Regions from separate parts of the Homo sapiens genome. Here region 1 is linked to region 2. Evidence: promoter capture Hi-C in human tissues and cell types (Jung and others, 2019). All regions are on one chromosome and are shown on one strand. Each heading gives the region's core, a stretch centred on a gene start or on the middle of the fragment in contact. The rest is flanking DNA. Distances are from core to core; before and after follow the strand shown.

Region 1 (5,946 bases), core at 299-2,798, 1.1 Mb before region 2:
TAACAGTCCCCGGTGTGTGATATTCCCCTTCCTGTGTCCACATCTTTTTTCTTTATTGCCACCTTTCTTTTTTCTTTTTTGCAATCAGATCTATTTTTTTTAAATTTAAAATTTTATTTTAATTTCGGGGGTACATGTGCAGGATATGCAGGTTTGTTACATAGGTAAACATGTGCCATGGTGGTTTGCTGCACCCATCAACCCATCACCTAGGTATTAAGCCCAGCATGCATTAGCTATTTTTTTTAATGCTCTCCTTCCCCTCACCCCCACCCCCTGACAGGCTCCAGTGTGTGTCGTTCCCCTCCCTGTGTCCCCGTGTTCTCACTCTTCAGCTCCCAGTTATAAGTGGGAACATGTGGTATTTGGTTTTCTGTTCCTGGGTCAGTTTGCTGAGGATAATGGCTTTCAGCTCCAGCCACATCCCTGCAAAGGACATGATCTTATTCCTTTATATGGCTGCATAGTATTCCAGGGTGTATATGTACTACATTTTCTTTAACCAGTCTATTGTTGATGGGCATTTAGGTTGATTCCACGTTTCCAATTAATCAGAACTACTTTTAAAAATAGTGGTTATCTTTTGCCACTATGTGGAACATATTCTTATACCCACGTTGAGATTTCCTGTGTATTCTTCATGTAAGCATATTTTAATCCATTTCAGTTTGTATAAGATGAAATCATAACTTTACATACTGTTGTTTTCTTCCACTGCTTTAAGAAAGTATATTTTTATATTCTTTCATTTCCAAGTTTTTGTCAACTTAATCTCAAATTCGAAACCCATGTTGATGTGATTAATGGTTATTTTCTATCTTTTTCTTTGATCATTTATTTTATTTTTATGCGTTTATTTATTTATTTAGAGATACAGTCTCGCTCTGTCACCCAGCCTGGAGTGCAGTGGCACAATTTCAGCTCACTGCAGCCTCAACCTCTTGGGTTCAAGTGATTCTTGTGCCTCAGCCTCCCGAGTAGCTGGGATTACAGGCATGCGCCGCCACTCTGCCCAGCTAATTTTTTGTATTTGTAGTAGAGACAGGGTTTTACCATGGCAGTCAGGCTGGTCTCAAACTCCTGGCCTCAGGTTGATCTGCCCACCTTGGCCTCCCAAAGTGCTGGGATTACAGGCATGAGCCACTGCGCCGGGATAGATCATTTATTTTAGAATTTTATTCAGTTTTGTTCAATGTGGTTGTTTTGAATCCACCTTATTTAACCAAGCTTTATTTTCCCAGCCATTCCTTTTGTTTAATAAGTTCTTAATTTAAAAAAATGTGTTTCTCAATGAAAATACATGGACATGGGGAGGGGAACATCACACATGGGGGCCTGTTGGGGGGTCGGGGGCAAGGGGAGGGAGATCATTAGGACAAATACCTAATGCATGAGGGGCTTAAAACCTAGATGACGGGTTGACAGGTGCAGCAAACCACCATGGCACATGTATAGCTATGTAACAAACCTGCACGTTCTGCACATGTATCCCAGACCTTAAAGAAAAAAAATCACACAGGAAAAAAAAAAGTGTTCCTATGTAGACGTACAACTTTTTGTGAAACCACAACAGTGAAGAAAGCAGGTGAAATCCCTGCTAATTTAGATCTTACCTTGTAATGGAAAGGGCAGAAAACAATGGAATAAATGTGTGTCTGACATAAAGTCCCCAGAGGTAAGTCATATGAAGAAAAATGATAGATTGTCGTGGCAGGGGCAGGATTTTCTAAAGTATGGTCTGGGGAGGTCTTTGCATCTTGCACGAGGAACGGAATTGGACTAGAGAGTGCCCACTGGATTTGTCAGAAAAGAGGGAAAAACTCAATACCTGGGAATTACAAAGAACAGATCCCACAAGGAAAAGTGAGAGAAAGGCCTGCCTCATCTACTACTGGACCATATAAAAACATGTGTGGGCCGGGCATGGTGGCTCACACCTGTAATCCCAGCACTTTGGGAGGCTGAGGTGGGTGGATCACGAGACCTGCCTGGCCAACATGGTGAAACCCTGTCTCTACTAAAAATACAAAAATTAGCTGGGTGTAGTGGCAGGTGCCTGTAATCCCAGCTACTTGGGAGGCTGAGGCAGGAGAATCGTTTGAACCTGGGAGGTGGAGGTTGCTGTGAGCTGAGATCGCGCCATTGCACTCCAGCCTGGGTGACAAGAGTGAAACTCTGTCTCAAAGCAAAAATAAAAACAAAAACAAAACATGTGTGGTCCATAAATATGGAATAGATACAGGAATAACAATTAGATCAGGGGTCTGATGTGAATTCTGTAATGAGGCAAGTGGATCAATGAAATTCTGCTCAGGGTATGGGCCCTGGAGTCCGGAGATAATGTCAGTTCTACGCTGGCTACCTGTTCTCCCAACAGTGTGGCTCTTCTCTTGAGCTCTTCATTCAGGCTGCATTTCCCAGGAACTTGCCTTAAAAACAAAAAACAAAAAACAAAACAAAACTATTCCGCCTTTACTGCAGTGGATTCCACACTCTTTGTGTCTGAAAGTAAGAAATACCTTTTACATCATGAGCCAGCATGCCTGCACATGCAAATATACACACACAGGTGGCTGAAGAAAGAGTATCATGAAACTAGTTTGTAGGTACCCTTATCATATATGATGTGCTTGAATATTTTCTTCTGCATTTTATTCATTCTATGCTATTTAAATCTTACGTACCATAGCACAACCCCTCAATCAGTCCCAATCTCAGAATATGGACAACATTCTCCTAGTGTGTCCTCCACACCTGTGTTAGCATCTCCCTGTATCTTTTATTTCCTCATCAGCAATTGCTGGGACAACACAAAATGTCCCTCACCATTGTCACCATTCTTCTTTCTACTTCTATGAGTTCATTATCATTTTAAGATTCCCCATGTACGAGTGTGCAGAATTTGTTTCACTGTGCCTGGCTTATCATTTAATGTAATGTCCTCCAGGTTCATCCGTGTGGTCACAAATGACAGGATTTCCTTCTTTTTAAAGGCTGAGTGGTGTTCTATTGTGGATATGCACCACGTATTCTTGATCTATTCATTCTTTGGCGGACACTGAGGTTGACTCCATATGTTGGCTTTTGTAAATAGTGTTGCAACGAATGCGGAAGTGCAGATATCTCTTCAACATACTGATTTCATTTCCTTTGGCTATATATGCAGTCATGGGATTATACACATATGGTAGTTCTATTTTTAGTTTTTTGGAGAACCCCCAACTATTTTCTATAATGCTTGTACTACCTTAAGTTTCCACCAAAAAGGTACATGGGCTCCCTTTTCTCCAGATCCTCATCAGCACTTATCTCCTGTCTTTTTTTTTTTTTTTTTTTTTTTTTTTTTGAGATGGAGTCTCGCTCTGTCGCCCAGGCTAGAGTGCAGTGGTGCGATCTCAGCTCACTGCAACCTCCACCACCCAAGTTCAAGCAATTCTCCTGCCTCAGCCTCCTGAGTAGCTGGCATTACAGGTGCCCGCCACTGCGCCGGCTAATTTTTGTATTTTTAGTAGAGATGGGGTTTCACCGTCTTGGCCAGGCTGGTCTTCAACTCTTGACCTCGTGATCCACCCGCCTCAGCCTCCCAAAGTGCTGGGATTACAGGCATGAGCCACCGCACCCAGCCACCTGCCTTTTTTATAATAGCCGTCCTAACAGGTTTGAGGTGACATCTCATTGTGGTTATAATGTACATTTCTCTGATAATCAGTGATGTTGAGCATTTTTTCATGTACCTGTTGGCCAGCTGTATGTCTTCTATTGAGACATGTCTCTTCATGTCCTCTGCCTATTTTTTTTTTTTTAAACTGGGTTACTTGTTTCCTTGATGTTGAGTTTCTTCTATATTGGGATATTAACCCCTTATCATATGTGTGGTTTGCAAATGTTTTCTCTCCTTCCATAGGTTGCCTCTCTGTTGATTGTTTTCTTTGCTGTGCAGAAGGTTTTTAATTTGATGTAATCCCACTTGTCTATTTTCACTTTCGTTGCCTGTGTTTTGAGGGGTATATTTTAAAACCATTGCCCAGACTACTGCTTTCTGCCTATATTTTATTCTGGAAGGTTTATAGCTTCAGGTGTTATCCTTAAATGTTTTTAAAAATTTGCGTAAATTGGTTGGGTGCAGTGGTTCATGCCTGTAATCCCAGCACTTTGGGAGGCTGAGACGGTCAGATCACTTGAGGTCTAGAGTTCGAGACCAGCCTGGCAAACATGGCGAAACCCCATCTCTACTAAAAATAAAAAATTAGGTGGGCGTGGTGGCATGTGCCTGTAATCCCAGCTACTCGGGAGGCTGAGGCAAAAGGATTGCTTGAACTTGGGAGGTGGAGGTTGTGGTGAGCCAAGGTTGTGCCACTGCACTCCAGTCTGGGCGACAGAGCAAGACTCCGTCTAAAAAAATAAAAAATAAATAAAATTTGTGTAAATTTAAGGGGTGTAAGTGCAGTTTTGTTACATGGGTATTTTGCCTAGTGGTGAAGTCTGGGCTTTTAGTGTAACCATCACCCAAATAGTGTACATTGTACCCATTAAGTAATTTATCAGTCCTAACCCCCTCTCATCTTCCCACCCTTCTGGGTCTCCAATGTCTATTATTCCACATTCTATATTTATGTGTCCACATTATTTAGCTCCCACTTGTAAGTGAGAACATGCAGTATTTGACTATTTCTGAGTTATTTCACTTAAGATAATGGCCTCTAGTTTCATCCGTGTTTGAGTCTTTAACCTATTTTCATTTAATTTTTGTATATGGTGTGAAATGAGGGTCTAATTTCATTCTTCTGCATATGGATATCCAGTTTTCCCAGCACCGTTTATTGAAGAGATGGTACTCTCACTATTGTGCTTTTTTTTTTTTTGGCAATTTGTCAAAAATAAAAATTGGCTGTAAATTCATGGATTTATTTCTGGGCTCTGTATTCTTTTCCATTGGTCAATGTGCCCCAATACAGTGTGCTTTCCATTTACCTTTTCCCCTCTGATTCACATGAATAATAAAACAAAGTCCCCAGATTTTCTAGATAATAAGTGTATCCATACATGGAGCTCCCTAACTTTTATGGCTTTCACCCAAGGGACAGGATCCTAAATTATTTAGCTCTGGGAGTTGATGGGGCTCTGCATTCATGAATCCCTTGAAACCAAAGAGAACAAAGAGGTAACTTTCTTTTTCAACTTTTATTTTAGAATCATGGGGTATATGTGTAGGTTTGTTACAAAGATATATTGTGTGACACTAAAGTTTGGGGTATGGCTGAACCCATCACCCAGGTAGTGAGTACCCAAGAGGTAGTTTTTCAGCCCTTTTCCTACTCCCTTTCTCCCCACTATAGTAGTCTCCAGTGTCTGTTGATCCCAACTTTATGTCCGTGTGTACCCAATGTTTAGCTCGCACTTATAAGCGAGAACATGAAGTATTTGGTTTTCTGTTTCTGCATTAGTTCACTTAGGATAATGGCCTTGAGTTCTCTCCATGTAGCTACAAAGGACATGTTTTTTTCTTTTTTATGGCTGCATAGTATTCCCTGGTGTGTACATACTACATTTTCTTTATCCAATACACCATTGATGAGCACCTGCAATGATTCCATGTCTTTGCTATTGTGAATAGCACCACAGTGAACATATGGGTGAATGAGTCCTTTTGGCAGGATGATTTATTTTCCTTTGGCTATATACTCAATAATGGGATTTCTGGGTCAAATGGTAGTTCAACTCAGTTTTTTGAGAAATCTCCAAACCGCTTCCCACAGTGGCTGGACTAATTTACATTCCCACCAACAGTGTATAAGTGGATATTATGCTCATGAAATAAGCCAGAGAGAGGAATAAAAAATGCTACATTATTTCACTTATATGTGGAATCTAAACAATGTCAAATACTGACCAGGTGTGGTGGTGGTTCATGCCTGTAATCCCAGCATTTTGGGAGGTCAAGATGGG
Region 2 (5,457 bases), core at 877-3,376:
CATAATCTATCCATCCTATCTACTCTATCTACCCATCCATCCATCATCCATCCATCCATCCATCCTATCTGTGCATCCGTGTGTCCATGCATCCATATGTCCTATTATTTGTCTATCTATCTATCCATCCATCCATCCATCCATCCATCCATCCATCCATGCTATCTGTGCATCCATGTGTCCATGCATCCATCTATTCTATTATCTATCTACCTACGTGCCTGTCCATCCATCCATCCATCCATCTATCCATCCTATCTGTGCATCTATCTATCTATCCTATTAGCTATCTATCTATCTATCTATCTATCTATCTATCTATCTATCTACATTCCTCCTGCTCTATCTATCTATCTATCCACATTCCTCCTGCTCTATCTCTCTTGGGTCCATCTCCAAGTCCCAAGGGTGCATCCCAGGGCAGAGGGAGAAGACGCACTGTCCACTCACAGAGGCCCAGTTATCTTGAGAGGAAGGATTTTCTTTTTCTGGGAGTCATTTCAGCCCAGAGGCAGCTATATGGGGAGGTCCTCACAGGGGAGATTTGTGGGGAGCAGTATCGCCTCAGGACATGTCCCTAAGGCTGGTCCCCACATGCCTTCATGTCCTGGCTGATCCACAGAGGCTCCAGTTCCTCCCATGGAGAAGGTTCTGCACATGGGAGACCTTCCCTTTTCAGCAGCCACTAGTGGAGCAGAGGTGACTCTAACTGTCCATCAGGACAATGGCTCCCACCTGGGAGCAGCTTCTGCAGCAGGCTCTGTGCTAGTGTGTCCTGTGCACCCTTCCACTTTATCTGTGGACACATCCATCAATCCTGCCATTTGCAAATGAGCAGACTAAGACCACATTCCCCAAAGAGGAGAGCGGTCTAAGTCAGAGGGCAAGGTCACGGGGAGGAGAAAGGCCAAGGAAAGCTTCTGAAAGGTGAAGTGAGTGGCCAACTTTTATCTGGGTTTGGCAACAGGTCTCATTGATAAGAGGGAGATAAGAAGAAGAATATAAGAGAAAGGTGCCTTCGGGTGTAGTGGAAGTGGGAGACGGCCCATGCCTCTCCTCTGGCCCAGCTGTACCCTCATAACAGGAAATAGTCCAGGCAAGGAGAGGACCCTGGACAGTGGGCATAAGAAGCCTCGAGTCCAGCAATGGAGAATGTGGGAATGCCAGGGACTCGCCTCTCTGTGCAGCCAACCCTCTGCCCAGGAGCCCCGCAGAGGTGCATTAATGTGGGAAGACAGGCAGGAAAAGGATTCAATGCAGGCCTGGAGTGGGAGGACAAGGAAGTGAGAAGGGCTTGCGTAGGCACCTCACAGAAATGAATAAGCAGAGGAATGAGTAAGATGCCTCCTCTGCTTCTCTGCCACCCCAGATCCCAGCCCACCCCTTCACCCCCACTCCCTAAGCCTCGTACCCCTCAGGAAGTCCATCCATCCTGAGACCTAGACCCATCCTGCTGCCACACTCACCATGCCCTGGTGTCCCCAAAACCAGTTCCGTCTTGGGGGTTGTGGGAAACACCGAAGGCGGCGGCAGTTGTCATAGAAGGCGTAGGTCCAGGCCAGGACATGGGCCAGGAGCCAGGAGGCCCCGACCAGCAGGAGGAGCAGCCAAGGGGATGCTGCCACTGGCCAGAGGCCCAGCCAGGACAGGCTCAGCTGGGACATCCTGCAGGGCAGACGGGATGGACGGTGAGATCCTGAGGCCCAGAGAACGGCCCAGGGACCTCCAGGGACAGTGGAGAGGCAGGGACGGGCAGTGCCGGAGGTAGAGCAGGGAGGGCTCAGGGATGGGTAAAAAGGGGCTGAGAGGTAAAGTCCAGAAAGGCCCAACCAAAACCAGCAGCCAAGTGGCCTCCAGTTCCCTAGTAAGCACTTAGAATGGGAAAGAGAGAGAGAGACTGATTAAAGTCCAGAAAGGCCCAGCCTGAATCACTGTGAGGTTGCCAGGGGCTTGGTTTCAGTTACTCGGAAACCACCCATCCTCCAGGCCAGCACCCAGGAGCTGCGTGGGCCTTGGGCAGTGCCCCTCTCCATCCCAGGCCAGGACCCCCCCCAGGCCTGCCACCCCCAGCCTGGCACCTTCTGTCAGGAGCAGTCTGTCCCAGACAACCTCCTCTCTCTGTCTGCTGGGAGGCCTTTGACCCTGGCCCTTGATATAGCAAAGGCTGTGGGAGGGCTGGCTGGGTTGGGCTGGGCCAACCAATCCCTGCAGCCTGGATGTGTCTCCTGAGCCTGGGCAGCCAATCAACACCTGGCGTCAGGCCAGCTGGGTGCAGAGGAATCAGCTCAGGGTCCAGATGGATGGGTAGATGCACAGATAGATAGAGTAGATAGGATGGATACATTAGGTAGATAGATAAAGTAGATATAGATAATGGATATATTAGACAGATGGATAGATAGCTATTAATAGATGATAGATAGATACATAGATAATAGGATAAATAGATGGAATGGATAAACGTACAGCTAAGATGGATTGATGGATGGATGGGTAGGCAAATATATATATAGATGAGAAATTAGATAGATAGGATGAATAGATTAGATAGACACACCCAGAAATAATGTTCCATCTCTGTCCCAGATATGTGGGATCCTCATTTGTGACATGGGAACTAGGGATCTTGGATCACTCCAATCACTCCAGATGCTACAAGGCCAGTGACTTACTCAGTATGATGCTGAGGAACATGACCATCAGAAACAGGATCAGAGTCACTCTCAAGCAAAAAAAAAAAAAAAAAAAAAAAAAAAAAAAAAAAAAACTCCAAGGATTAAATGATTTTTCCCATTGTCCTGGGGAGAAATTAATCCAAGGGAGGTCACAGGAGGGCAAATAATTCCCCATCACCACCACCACCACCATGAGCATACCATCACCCATGGAGTTTTCTGATTTACTCTTTGGCCCATTAAGCGTGAAATTTCTTATGCTAGGTTTCTTTCTGATAAGGGAGAAGAGATTAGTATCTCTACATTTCCTCTCCTCCTGCTACCTAGTCTCTGTATTCTAGGTTAAATTATAATTTATGTTGAGGATTTACAATGGCTGATACACCTAGCTGAGCCTTCTGCACAGAGATACATTGGGAGTGGAGGTTAATTGGGTCAAAGGAGAAATGCCATAAGCCCACACTCCAGCCTATCAGGGTGGATTAAAGGTCTGATTTGCCCAACTCTTGTCACACCTGCTCCCACTGAGAGGTGACAGCATGCTGGCAGTCCTCACAGCCCTCACTCGCTCTCGGCGCCTCCTCTGCCTGGGCTCCCACTTTGGCGGCACTTGAGGAGCCCTTCAGCCCACCGCTGCACTGTGGGAGCCCCTTTCTTTTCTCTTCTTTTCTTTTTTTTTGGATTTTTTTATTATTATTATTATACTTTAAGTTTTAGGGTACATGCGCACAATGTGCAGGTTAGTTACATATGTATACATGTGCCATGCTGGTGCGCTGCACCCACTAACTCGTCATCTAGCATTAGGTATATCTCCCAATGCTATCCCTCCCCCCTCCCCCCACCCCACAACAGTCCCCAGAGTGTGATGTTCCCCTTCCTGTGTCCATATGTTCTCATTGTGTAGGGACATGGATGAAATTGGAAATCATCATTCTCAGTAAACTATCGCAAGAACAAAAAACCAAACACCGCATATTCTCACTTATAGGTGTAGGAGCCCCTTTCTAGGCTGGCCAAGGCCAGAGCCGGCTCCCTCAGCTTGCAGGGAGGTATGGAGGGAGAGGCGCGAGTACGAACCGGGGCTGCGCGCGGCACTTGCGGGCCAGCTAGAGTTCCAGGTGGGCGTAGGCTTGGCAGGCCCCGCACTCGGAGCAGCCGGCCGGCCCTGCCAGCCCCGGGCAATGAGGGGCTTAGCACCCGGGCCAGCGGCTGCTCGGGAAGGTGTACTCGGTCCCCCAGCAGTGCCAGCCCACCGGCGCTGCGCTCGATTTCTCGCCGGGCCTTAGCTGCCTTCCCGCGGGGCAGGGCCCAGGACCTGCAGCCCGCCATGCCTGAGCCCCCGGCCTCCGTAGGTTCCTGTGCAGCCCGAGCCTCCCCGATGAGCGCCGCCCCCTGCTCCAGGGCGCCCAGTCCCATCGACCACCCAAGGGCTGAGGAGTGCGAGCGCACGGCGCGGGACTGGCAGGCAGCTCCACCTGCAGCCCCGGTGCGGGATCCACTGGGTGAAGCCAGCTGGGCTTCTGAGTCTGGTGGGGACGTGGAGAACCTTTGTGTCTAGCTCAAGGATTGTGAACGCACCAATCAGCGCCCTGTCAAAACAGACCACTTGGCTCTACCAATCAGCAGGACATAGGTAGGGCCAGATAAGAGAATAAAAGCAGGCTGCCCGAGCCAGCAGTGGCAACCCGCTCAGGCCCCCTTCCACATTGTGGAAGCTTTGTTCTTTCACTCTTTGCAATAAATCTTGCTGCTGCTCACTCTTTAGGTTCACACTGCTTTTATGAGCTGTAACACTCACCGCGAAAGTCTGCAGCTTCACTCCTGAGCCAGCGAGACCACGAACCCACCAGAAGGAAGAAACTCCGAACACATCTGAACATCAGAAAGAACAAACTCCAGACGCGCCACCTTAAGAGCTGTAACACTCACCGCGAGGGTCCGCGGCTTCATTCTTGAAGTCAGTGAGACCAAGAACCCACCAATTCCGGACACACCATTGTCTGAGTAAGTTTGGGTGCCAGGACTATGAGGTCGTGTGAAGACTTCCAGCCCCATACCTGCAGAACAGTCTGCAGCTCACTCTGCTCTGAACTGCCCCAACTTTGCACAGATATTCTCCATTCCTCGAAATGAAACTGTATCCTTCAAAGCTCACACATTTCGCTTATTGGCTCAGCGTAGGGAGCAAGTTCTCTAGATAGCTTACTACCAAATAAAATGGTGGAGAAGGGAACCCAGGCAGCTGGGCACAAAAAAGGAATGAGCAACAAGCTTCCTCTCTGAACATGATTTTCTGTGTAAGGTCTTGGACACTCCCTCGACTGCTTCCAGCCATCTGCCTCATGCTAGGTTTCTAGTTAATGTGGAATGAAAACTCTCACATCTTCCTTCTAGATGTAGCTGTGGTAATTGCAACTTAGGCAGTTGTGCTTGAGAATCTTCTTCTTAATACCACATGGCAAGGTCATTCCCCAATGCTTTTATTTACCTTCACTTGAATTTTTATATTAAACATTGGATTGAACAAGAACGGAGAAGAGAATCACAATTATTGTGTAGATGCTACATTGTAGTTACATTTTCTCTTGTAATTATTACAGTGCTGGGACTATTCGAGCTTTAAAATCCTTTCTGAAGATCCTAAAGCTACTCAGTGGTTCTGCTGGCATTAGGGGTTGATATGGTTTGGGTCTGTCTGTGTCCCTTCCCAAATCTCATGTTGAATTGTAATCCCCAATGCTGGATGTGGCGCCTGGTGGGAGGTGTTTGGATCATGGGG

The links. Contacts are between HindIII fragments. The study calls those that stand out against the background at their distance.
Region 1: a contact is called between a fragment that was not itself captured here and the fragment with the promoter of CYP4F2 in region 2, in 1 of the 25 tissues and cell types used here (dorsolateral prefrontal cortex).

The regions. Positions count from the first base shown.
Region 1 is chr19:14,819,057-14,825,002 of GRCh38, forward strand. All of the region lies in intron 1 of OR7C1 (olfactory receptor family 7 subfamily C member 1), which reads right to left. Among named protein-coding and RNA genes, the nearest start is that of OR7A5, 13 kb to the right of the region's middle. The HindIII fragment of the contact is 5,601 bases long and covers 1-4,349 here.
Region 2 is chr19:15,895,948-15,901,404 of GRCh38, forward strand. It overlaps CYP4F2 (cytochrome P450 family 4 subfamily F member 2), which reads right to left and starts at 2,127. Exons shown (of 13, transcript NM_001082.5): 1 at 2,079-2,127; 2 at 1,467-1,665. The coding sequence starts at 1,664. The HindIII fragment of the contact is 5,329 bases long and covers 1-4,671 here.